3 separate regions of the Homo sapiens genome follow, and regions 1 and 3 are each linked to region 2. The links are contacts of gene promoters, found by promoter capture Hi-C in blood cells and fetal thymus (Javierre and others, 2016). All regions are on one chromosome and are shown on one strand. The core of a region is centred on a gene start or on the middle of the fragment in contact, and the rest is flanking DNA. Distances in the headings are between cores, read along the strand shown. Region 1 has its middle 12 kb from the start of COMMD10. Region 2 holds the start of PGGT1B (protein geranylgeranyltransferase type I subunit beta). Region 3 overlaps COMMD10 (COMM domain containing 10).

Region 1 (3,697 bases), core at 58-2,557, 810 kb before region 2:
ATACATTATTTAAAAAATAAATTGATTATAACATCTTAAAATGTTTCCATAATCTTTTTTTTTTTTTTTGAGTTGGAGTCTCACTCTGTCACCCACTGCAAGCTCCGCCTCCTGGGTTCATGCCATTCTCCTGCCTCAGCCTCCTGAGTAGCTGGGACTACAGGTGCCTGCCACCACGCCTGGCTAATTTTTTGTATTTTTAGTAGAGATGTGGTTTCACTATGTTATCCAGGATGGTCTCAATCTCCTGACCTCTTGATCTGCCCGCCTCAGCCTCCCAAAGTGCTGGGATTACAGGCATGAGCCACCATGCCAGGCCCCAAATGTTTCCATAATCTCTTTAAAACTTTGCAGAGGTGGCACTCTAGAGAACTCTAGTCTGAATATGGCTCATGGGCTATAGAAATACTGTGCTTGCTTATTTTGTTTAACCTACTCAGTGATGACATAGACAATGTAACCAGAGAGATTCTTATTTTGAAAACAATAGAAGCAACTTAATTTTTATAGTTTGCTGCATGAGTCATAAAGTCCCTATGCCTAAAGGCATTTAAGTTTGTGACCCCCATCTTAGAGGAATATTTTAGGGACAAACATCTCTTTGTTAAGGAAACAACTCTTTAATATACAGCAATTTCTATAGTTTTTTTTCTTCTCTTTTCCACTTTAATAAAATCATTTCTATATATCTGTATCACATATATTAGATATATAGCATATAGATTGAGATCTAGATATAAATATGCATACAGTGATTACTAAAATTAGGTTTGGTTAATGTCCACAATTATTTCAGGCTGGTGAGATTTTCTGTAAGTTTTTACCTTCTCTGTATTACTTGAACTTCCAATGATGAGAATTAATTATTTTTACCATCAGTTACTATTCAAAAGATCATGAAGACCAAGATAATTAGTTATGTGCCCAGGATATTTTATATTAGGTACTAACATATTTTACATGCCAAGAAAAATTCTTTGTGGGACCTAACATTAACATCATTCTTATGGTAATTTGTAAATAATATTAATTTATTATTATCAAAATATACTTAAGATTTTTGTGTGTTAAATGAAAGGTCTAAAGTAAATTATTAATATTATTGCATTTGGGAAAAAGGCAAATATATCTCTTCAGAGTAACTGCCTATTTTTTATTTACACAAGATTTTAAAAAGTTTTTTCTTTACAGTTTGCTTAGATTAGTAAATTAACAAGATGGGTACAGTTACTTTCCTTCAGGATCAGAGTCGGCGTGGCATTGCTAAAGACAAAGTGGTGCTTCTAACAAGCCAAAGAGCTCGAGAGGTTCCAATCTGCCCCTTAGAGCCATAGGTAAATACAGATTATTTGAATGACTCTACCCAGTCTCCTCATTGTTCCAGCATGCCATGCCCATTCTCAGTTGTGTCTAGTTTTGTAGTCTCTTCTTTGTAATATACTCTCCCCACAGTTCCTACATCTCCAGAAGGGAATATGTAGAGGTATTTGAGTTGTTCCAATGCCTTACAAATGTTACTGATACATAGCAGGAATCACAGTCTCACACAATGATGAATTATCCACCCAAGGTGCCAATAGCATCTGTGTGGAGAAACCAAACCTTCAAGACTTCAAGATCCAACTCAGTTCACACTTTCTAAAATGTACACCACCTACTCACCTTCTTCTCTGGACTTTGAGAGGGTTTCTTATATGAAGCAAACATTTTAGCAAGGAATTCTATATGATTGCCTTTCTTCATTAGCCAACTGTTGTAAAGGCATAGATCCATCCTTAGACTTCTTTAGAGACCTCATCATACCCAGTATCATATGGGTGCCTGGGATAGATAAAATAAAACTATTTCAAACCCTTTTACAGTGAAGATTTAAGCTCTTGGTTGGACAGCCAATTTAGTTAAATGGTATGTCTAAGGATGCAGAAATCTGTGAACACTACATTCAAAGAGAAATAGTGTTTCCCTAAACACATAACTTTATTTGATTCCTTGATTTATTCTACTTTGAAGTTAGTAAGTTTTATTGAGATCTTGAAAAATGAGTTGAAATACTGTATTTTCATAGCTGTCTTTCCAGAATTCAAGACGCTTCACAATACTTTCATGTTTCGACAAACTAATGGTAAAATACTGTGTTTCAAATGTGTGTATAAAATTTTTTTTGATTCCTTCATGACTTTTCCTTATTTTTGTATGGCAGAATTTGTTCATCAAGGTCAACTTGGTAAATATATAATTGTGGAACATTTGATTTGAGGTTTAACTTTAGTGTGAAAGCCTATTAACTCAATCACACCTAGTGCCCTAATCTTGGTTTCTAATATTCTCCAATAAAAAGAACCTGGACTTGTTGGAGAAATGGCTGATTCTAGGACTGGGGCAGTAAGTACAAAATGAGCCTGGGACACCTTGTAGTGCAGGGAGTAAGGAAGTGCTAAAAATTTAAAATAAAATTTTAAAACTCACAATGATTCAGATATGTTAAAGGACCATAGAACGCAACTGAAAAAAACTCCTAATAGCTTAAAACCAAATGATAAAATGAATATCCACAAGTCCATACTGATCTAAACAAATAATTTAATAAATTATTCCATTATTTAAATAATTGAATAATTATTGAGTAAATAGAAGGGAGAGAAGACAAAATTTCCTGCGTAAAATTACAAATAATTTATATAAATACCCATCCCTGAAGAGAGGGAAGCATAACTCTCTACTCCTTAATTATAGGCTACACATAGTGACTTCTTTCCAAAGAGTGCAGTTTGTAAGGGTGGTAGGGGTAGAGTCACTTTACAGTGAAGAATCCTGACAAACACCACCTCAACCAGATGATCAAGGCCAACATTATCAGTGATGAATCATGTTGCTAGTAAGTACTCTTGGTATGGTGTCATGAAAATGGCAATTGGTCTTTGTGTCTTCTTCCAGAAACCCATAACTCTGGTTTCATTATGAGAAAAATGTCAGACAAATTCCAAGGGGACATTCTACAAAATACTTGACTAGGACTCCTCAAAACTGTCAAGGTCATCAAAAACAAGAAAAGCCCAAGAAACTATCACAGTCCAGAAGAGCCTAAAGAGACACGATGACTAAATGTAATGTGGTATTTTCAGTGGGATCCTGGAACACAAAAAGGACACTGGGCAATAAGTAAGAAATATGGATAAAGCATGGACTTTGGTTAACAATAATTTCTTATTATTGGTTCCTTCATTTTAACAAATATGCCGTACTCATTTGTCAGTAATACGGGAAATTGGGTGTGGAGTATATGGCCACTTTTACAGTCTTCACAATTTTTCTGTTTCTAAAACAGTTGTAGAAGATAAAGTTTATTTATTTTAAACCTATTAACTATTTTCAACTTTTTGAATTATGAAAGGAGTACTACTGTCAAAATGACACTTACAAAACTTAGAAATATTATCACCGTTACACTTTCCATAGCAGCACAAATCCGTCACAGGCACCATTGTGAATGCTATGCGGTGCCACCCAAAGCCTCCCTTTGAGGGAAGGATGTATTCTCACAGCTGCAGTGAAGGGTGCTGACTGACACTGCTGAGCTGTCAGTCCTCTTCAGGAATTGCCTCACCTAAAGAGTACCACTTAGCCCAAGGCCACGTCCACTTCTCAGTGCAGTCTGTATCTGACTGGTAATATTTAACAACCAGATCTCTGAAGAGAG
Region 2 (4,122 bases), core at 186-2,685:
AAGCCTTTTACCGACCTAGGAGGCATTCTGTATTATCTCTGAATGAGTCCCACATTGCAAATTTTTCCTCTAGATTTGGATCAGATTGCTAGTCCTTGAGCTGAGAATCAGATGAAACATTTGGCTTCCCTAACTTAAGGGCCATGTTTATTAGAATTAATTTTCTGAGAATGTATAGAGTGTCCATAGCTGATTCCAGTAAGTTAAATGTGTATAAGACTCCACTTTAAAAATCTTCAGGCATTTGGGGGTATGTGTGCTAAGTGAGAGATCTTAATTTTAATAACAGTGGAAACTCCAGACTGGGCACACCTGAAGGGCAAGGACTGTGAGCTCCGTATTTGTAGGGAAGTACCGAGGACAGCCTAGAATCCGTCTGTGGCTGTTAAATGCGGCATTTTGTAAAGACATGCAGGAATACCTGTGAATAAGTAGTTAATAGTACCAAAAATTATTCAGAGCACTTTGGATTGTTGAATAAGTGTAAGATTACCCCAGCCCATAGAGTATAAGAATTACATTTTCTAAGAAAGCTAACAAAATTAAACCCAAAATTTTATTAGCTAAGTTGATCACAGGGAACCTAGTTTAGTTATATTATTGGGTGGATCCCCCCACCCGCTACTCAGGAATGCCTCATGAAAGTTTAAAGGGCATAGTATACCGGCTAAACAACTTAAATCCCTATTTTTGGAAAAAAGAACTAGAAGCATGTTTAAATTTTTTAGAATGCAGGTAATTGGAGAAGATATTGAGCTTATTTTGCTGTTGCAGATTGATGCACCATTGATTCTTGATAACACGTCGACTCAAGCAAAGTAAAATCTGTAAGATTTGTAAAAGAATGACGCAAGCAGTCATATATAGGTATGAATATGCATGTTGTATATGTTTGGGGGCATTATACACAGATTTTTAAGTGATTCCTGGTATCCAGAAAGGATTAAGATTAGGAAAGTCTCTGAGCTTTTGTAGTGTCAATAAACATTTATCTCCACTGGTTTGTTTTTCTGTTTCCCTAACCGTTCGGCTTAAAACTGGCCCTCCAAAAATGAATCTGTTAGCAAGTTTATACTGATCCATCCTCGTTTTCAGATATACCATCCTCAGGTTCTACAGAGCCAGAATTGTCTCAAAGCGTACTTGATGCTTTTGACCTTGCGCTTCCCAAGATAAAAATTCTGACGGAGGGATTTGTGGACTTGATTTTCACAAGGCCTGCGAGGTGTTTACAAGCCTCGAGGGCTTTGAGTAGAAAAGGTAGGGTCATGCGCTAGCTAGGGAGATATCGGAGAGAGGAAGTGCTGCACAGGACCCAGATGATAGCGGTTTCAAATACTGGCTTAGTCTGCGGCGGGCGCAGGTCCCCTCACCCGGCACCCTGTGGTTCAGCACAGGAGGGTTCTTTCTCTCCGCGGGCACTGATTCCGGGTCGCGGCGGACGTCGCTTCCGGAGCAGCATGGCGGCCACTGAGGATGAGAGGCTAGCAGGGAGCGGTGAGGGAGAGCGGCTGGATTTCTTACGGGATCGGCACGTGCGATTTTTCCAGCGCTGCCTCCAGGTTTTGCCGGAGCGCTATTCTTCACTCGAGACAAGCAGGTAACTCGTGGCACAGTCAGCCAGGCTGGCACAAGGCCCGGGCTCCAGCGGAAAGGCGCGGCGGAGTCGGACCGCAAACTGGGCGCCGGAAGGGGGCTGCGCGGCCGCCCAGTTGGCACTGACTGGTTTCAAGTGGGCTTGAGGTTACCCCCACTCTCCCGCCGTACGGTGGGAAGGTCTGGAAGGCTGTAGGTCGAGGGCTGTGGCATCTCCAGTTTCCGGCTTTTTCACTTCCCTTTTCTTCTGGCAACTCTGAGCTGCTTTTTTACCCGCTCCCATAGCCTGTCACTTTGCCTCATTACTTCCGAGTGTAAAAGGAAAAGGACAAAGTTTGTCGTCGTATTTTTAGATGAATACTTCTGTGCATCCTTGTCCTCTCTAAAGTCATTAACTCTTAATAGAGTGTCTGTATGGTGTTTTATGTGTAGGAGCGGCAGAGAACCTCTAAGGTCTTAGAAACTTTGTGGGAACTATAAATCTAATGGTAGGCGAAAGAGGTGTGGTGTTGCGTGAAGCAGCCTGTTAAAAGTATCGCAATAGCTGAAGAGTGTGGTGCGGCAGAGACTAAGCGACTTCATTTACAGTAAAAGCTGGGGATGAGAAGAAAGAAAGGAGAAGGCAATCTTTGCTCCGCATTGCTGTGTTTTGAAGTGAAGCTCAAAAGCTGCTTGAGACTGGATGGGAGGAAAGAGCGGCTTGTTTTTGCTGTGTTCTTTCCCCACGTTTTCCAAATTCTGAGTTGCTGGTGTATTTTGAACACTGCATGACCGGATCAGTTTGGGGAGCTTTGCAGATTACTTCTGCACACTTGGTCAAGAACCACATTATGGTAGGTGCCAGAGTACAGCTGAACAAGACAAGCATTTGTATAGAGTTCTGTGCTATATGTTAGTGTAGTGTTCATAGGAGTATATAGACAGGCATGTACATAATCCAGATATCTTTAGAGAGGCCTTCCTTAAACACCCTTCCTAAAGGGACCACTTCCAATGACCACCTCACATTACGTATGTATTGGTTTATTTGTTTAATGTCTTTCTATTACACTGGATTATAAACTTCACAAAGGTAACATTTTCGTCTATCTTGTTTACCTCTATACTTAGGACTGGGCTGCCCTGTCCAATCTGGTAGCCACTAGCCACATTTGGCTATTTTGATTTGAATTAATTAAATCAAATTAAAAATTAAGTGATTCTTTTGGTAGTAGCCACCACATTTCAAGTACCCAGTTGCCATATTGGCCAGTGGCAATTGTTTCTATTTCAACATTTGCAACAGCTTAGTCCTTTTGGTCAACATTGCACTAGGACCTTAAATAGTACCTGGTATCTGAGAAGCACTAAGAAATATTTGTTGAATAATGTGAGCTGAGCCCTGAAGGATGAACAGATTCTCACAAAAGAAAGAGTGAAACGTTTATATTCCTTCCTCCTCTCATAGGTGTTGATCGATTAGCAGAGCCTATACCTTCACTGAAAGATTCAGATTTCCAAACCGAAAGGTTATGATTGTAGTGATATGAGATGTTTTAAAATGTTGATAAATTGTTTATATCTTAATAGGGATTAATTTTATGTGAATTCAAAGCTTTTAGATAAAAAGTCTTCCATCCTGTTTTTGTTATTGATACATAATGTGCATATTTATCGTATACATACACTGCTTAGATAGATGCAGTGTATAAGTCCTGTGAGCTGATTAAATTGTGATTGTTAAACAGTTGAACTTTGCTTGCAGCTATCACTATAAGTCTGTGATTTAATTTTCAAAATGCCAATGTGTTTGGCCTGTTTTATAAAATTCCAGCTTGGACAAATCCATATAGAATAATGCACATTGGCATTAAACTGTGTAATTCTGTTCACAGCATAAGTAAAACAGCACAAATTTTCTGACTTATTTAACTTTAGTATGAGCATAGGATCGACACCAGGTGTTATATAACACCTTGGTGCATTGGTTAAGCAATATTGTATCCTTTTTTGTCTAATGTTTGTCATATGAATAGAATTTTTACATCATTTTGGTTTTCTTATAGCCTAGTTAACCGCATTTAAGATAACTGCATATGTCAGTTTCTGTAGTGATTTTAAGTTTTTCTCTTTCCTAACTCACAGACTTTATTTTCTTTAGCACTAAGTTCTTTTGTGGTGCATGTGATTCATAACTGACTTTAAAATGCTTGTGAAGAAACTCCAACCTTTTCAGCAAAGGTGACCGGTCACAAAGTTTCTGCTGATCTTTAAGACAAAACAGTACATTGGGCAAGCCACAACTCTTACCTGGTATTGCAGTTAAATTCCACAGTCATTCATAGAGTGCCTCCCCATGTGTCTAGGTACAGGTATACAGTGTTAAACTAATGATTCAGGTGTTCCTCTGTTCGTTTCTTTTTACCAATAGGTATGAAAAAGCTTTGAGAAGGCTAATATTAGACTGGATATTTAGACACTTATTTTCAGATTCACCATTTTGGCAAAATTACTCTTATTTTCTTGTTTCTTTTAGCCTGACCAATA
Region 3 (3,791 bases), core at 1,037-3,536, 830 kb before region 2:
ACCTGGAGGGTGTTATGCTAAGTGAAATAAGCCAGGCACAGAAAGACAAAACACTGTATGAGCTAATTTATACGCATACTCTAAAAGTTTAACTCACTGAAGCAGAGAGTAGAATGGTAGTTGCCTGGGGATGGGGTATGAGGGAAATGAGGAGATGCTGGTCAGAGGGTACAACTTTTAGCTATAAAACAAATTAAGTTCTGGGAATCTAATGTATGGCATGGTGACTATAGTTAATAATACCACGTTGTTTACTTTAAGTTTTCAAAGACAGTAGATCTTAAATGTCCTCACGCACACACTCACCCACACATAAAAGGTGGTAACTGTGTGGTGACAGATATGTTGATTAATTTGATTATGGTAATCATTACACAATGTATACAGCTATCAAATCATCACATTGCACACCCTGAATACGCATAATTTTTGTTTATCAATTATACCTCGATAAAGCTTAAAAAAGAAGTTTTTAAAATGGAATAAAAATAAACACCTTTTGATTTTTTAACATTATTTCATTGATCTTACCCTCTTTGAATTCAGAATCACAGTCTTTCCTCAGTATCTAGCGAGGGCTGGTTCCAGGACCCCCTACAGACACCCAAAACTGCAGATACTCAAGTCCCTCATATAAAATGACACAGTATTTAAATATAATCTACACATATCCTCCTTTATACTTTAAATCATCTCTAGATTATTTATAATAACTAATACAATGACAACACATCATTTCTGTGGATTTAACATAGTACTCAGCACATGGCAAATTCAAGTTTCACTTTTTGGAATTTTTTGTTTCCCAAATATTCTTGATCTGCTGCGAGTTTAATCCATGAATACGAAATCCAGGGATACAGAGGGCTGACTGTACTACCAACATGTGTTCTGCTGCAAGCACCCCACAGTTTATGTGGGTAGGACCCTAAGTTACCATAAAACAGTTAAAGTCATTGCATGTACACCTTTTTTCATCATATAAGTCAGTGTAATATATTTTTGTTACAATTTAAATGGCATGATCTGTTTTCACATCTGGCTATTTTGGCCACAGTATCCTAAACAGTTCTCAGAATGAAAAAGAAAGATAGCATTACAGCTGCCAGAGGTAGCATGATATAAAAGGAATAAGACTTAGAGACAGACAGATCCAATCCTCATTTCAGTTTCATCATGGACCACTTGGGATAATATGATAAAGTGACTAATATTTTCTAAAGTTTTATTTCCTCACTTTTAAAAGGTATGTGACATGGTTTGGATCTGTGACCACAACAAATCTCATGTGCAATTGTAATCTCCAGTGTTGGAGGTGGGCCCGGTGGGAGGTGACTGGATCATGGGGGCAGGCTTCTCATGAATGCTTTAGCACCATCCCTTCAGTGCTATTCTTGTGATAGTTGAGTTCTCGCAAGACCTGCTTGTTCAAAAGTATGTAGCCCCTCCCTCCTCCCTCTCTCTCTTGTTCCTGCTCCTGCCATGAAAGACACCTGCTCCCCATTCACCTTCCACCATGACTGTAAGTTTCCTGAGGCCTCCCCAGAAGCCAAGCAGATGCCAGCACATCATGCTTCCCGTACAGCCTGCAGAACCGTGGGCAAATTACACCTCTTTTCTTTATATAATTACCCTATTTCAGGTTATTTATAGCAATGTGAGAATGGACTAATATGAAGTACATACAAACAACTATATAAATCACCCTGCATAATGCCTGACGCAGAAAAATTCCGCAGCTAACATCTATGTGTTAGGATAGCATAATAGCTTAGGAATGTGACTATTCTTGTCAAATCCCAACTCAGCCACTTACTTAGCTGTACAATCATGGGCAACTTTTTAAACCTCTCTAAGCCTCAATTTTATAAGTACATGTATAAACTAGAACTATTAATGGGTTTTGTAACATACAAAGAACTCATTATAACATCTGACCCACAATAAGCACAATAAATGCTTGTTATCATTATATTATTTAAGCATTTCAGACTTTAAAATAGTATATTAGCAATCCTATGATATACCCAGAATTACCAAAAGATAATTTCCAGCATTCTCAATGGGACAATGTACAATTAATCAGATCATTCCAACTTCTTTATTTGCATATTTTATATGACAAATGATTAATTAATTTCTTAAAGAGAAGCTTCTGTAATCCAACTATGGGAAAAATATTACCTTTAAAAAAACAAACTTTCATCATGAAGACACTAAAAAGTAATTTACTATTAGAAGCAGAAAACAAAAATATTTTTAATTGTTATGACTACTAAAGTGCAAGGAAAAAAACGGACTGTATAAAATATAGGAAAAATATAAACAGAAAACAGGCTACTATTAAAAAGCCAAGAATTTTTTTTAAAAATGAAAATGGCTTAAAAAAAGAATTGCAGGGAAACAAATGGAAAGCTTAAAATCTATAGAGGATATAGGAAAAAGTAGACTTTAAAATGATAAAAAATGAAGCAATGACATAGAAGACACTTGAGAGTAGTAAGAATACAGAATTTTTAAAAAGGGAAGTAGAGAAGTGAAAACAATAAAGGGGCATTTTCTAACATCCTACTTAATGATAAGAGCCTGAATGCTTTCACCCTAAAATTGGGAACAAGGCAAGGATATTCAGACTTACCACTCCTATTCAGCATCACGTTGGAAGTCCTTGTCAGTAAAATAAAGCAAGAAAAATAAAAGCTCTACAGATTGAAAAGGAAGAAATAAAACTGTCTTTATTCACAGACAACGTGACTGCCTTCAAAGGAAATCACAAAAAACCTATAAGAAAGCTGCTAAAACTAATTAGTGAATTTACCAAGTTACAGGATAGAGATCAGTATAGAAAAGTCTACTGTATTTCCATATACTATCAATAAGCCATTGGAAAACAAAATTTGAAAAATACTACCAATAGTTCAACAACAAAAAAAAAAAGAAAGAAAAAGTACTTAAGGTACAAACCTAACAAAATAAGGGCAGGATTGATAAGCTGAAAACAAAAGACACTGATAAAAGAAATCAAAGAAGACCTAAATAAATAGATATACTCAATACTTATTAAGGAGTCATTTCTCAATAAAGTTATTTACAAATTAAACACAACCCCAATCAATACCCCAAGCAGGATTTTTTACAGAAATACAAAAGCTGATTTTCAAACATATGAAAAGGCAAAGAAACTAGGATTGCCAAAACAATTATAAAAAAGAAGAAAAAAGTCAGTGGGTTCACAATACCTGATTTTAACACTTACTATTAAGCTATAATAATTAAGGCAGTGTGATATTGGCATAGACAAATAAGTCAATGAAATCAAAGAGAGATTCCAGAAAAAGACTCACAAAAATATCAAATGATTTTAGACAAACACATGGTAATTCAATGACAAAATGATAATTTTAACAACAAATCACATTGGAGCAAATGAACATCCATACATAGAAAAAATGAACTTTGACCTGCACTTTATGTATCATACAAAATTAACAGTAAATGGATTTTAGATCTAAACATAAAATATAAATATGTAAAACATTTAGAAGAAAACAGTAAATATTTATGTCATGATTAGGCTGCAAATTCCTAGAAAACCAGAAGTAGGTTCATGAAAAGAGAAAAAAAAAATACAACAGATTTCATCAAAGTTAATGGTTCTGTTCTGGGAAAGATACTGTTAAGAGAATGAAAAGGAAAGCTACAGATTAGGAGAAAATACGTGCAAATCATATATCTCACAGAGGACTTCTAGAGAATATACAGATGCTCCTTGACTTACAATGGGCTTATGC

The links. Contacts are between HindIII fragments. The CHiCAGO score rates a contact against its expected background, and 5 or more counts as called.
Region 1: a fragment that was not itself captured here is called in contact with the fragment with the promoter of PGGT1B in region 2 in 5 of 17 cell types (non-activated CD4 T cells, monocytes, naive CD8 T cells and 2 more); the score reaches 5.4 in non-activated CD4 T cells.
Region 3: a contact is called between a fragment that was not itself captured here and the fragment with the promoter of PGGT1B in region 2, in 1 of 17 cell types (non-activated CD4 T cells). The highest score is 5.1, in non-activated CD4 T cells.

Annotation. Positions count from the first base shown.
Region 1 is chr5:116,070,748-116,074,444 of GRCh38, reverse strand. No RefSeq gene overlaps it. Among named protein-coding and RNA genes, the nearest start is that of COMMD10, 12 kb to the left of the region's middle. The HindIII fragment of the contact is 6,657 bases long and covers 1-3,697 here.
Region 2 is chr5:115,260,190-115,264,311 of GRCh38, reverse strand. PGGT1B (protein geranylgeranyltransferase type I subunit beta) reads left to right here and starts at 1,435. Exons shown (of 9, transcript NM_005023.4): 1 at 1,435-1,600. The coding sequence starts at 1,461. RefSeq lists enhancers at 1,317-1,366, 1,397-1,576. The HindIII fragment of the contact is 10,345 bases long and covers 1-3,192 here.
Region 3 is chr5:116,095,482-116,099,272 of GRCh38, reverse strand. The region is part of intron 4 of COMMD10 (COMM domain containing 10); the gene reads right to left. Among named protein-coding and RNA genes, the nearest start is that of COMMD10, 12 kb to the right of the region's middle. The HindIII fragment of the contact is 263 bases long and covers 2,155-2,417 here.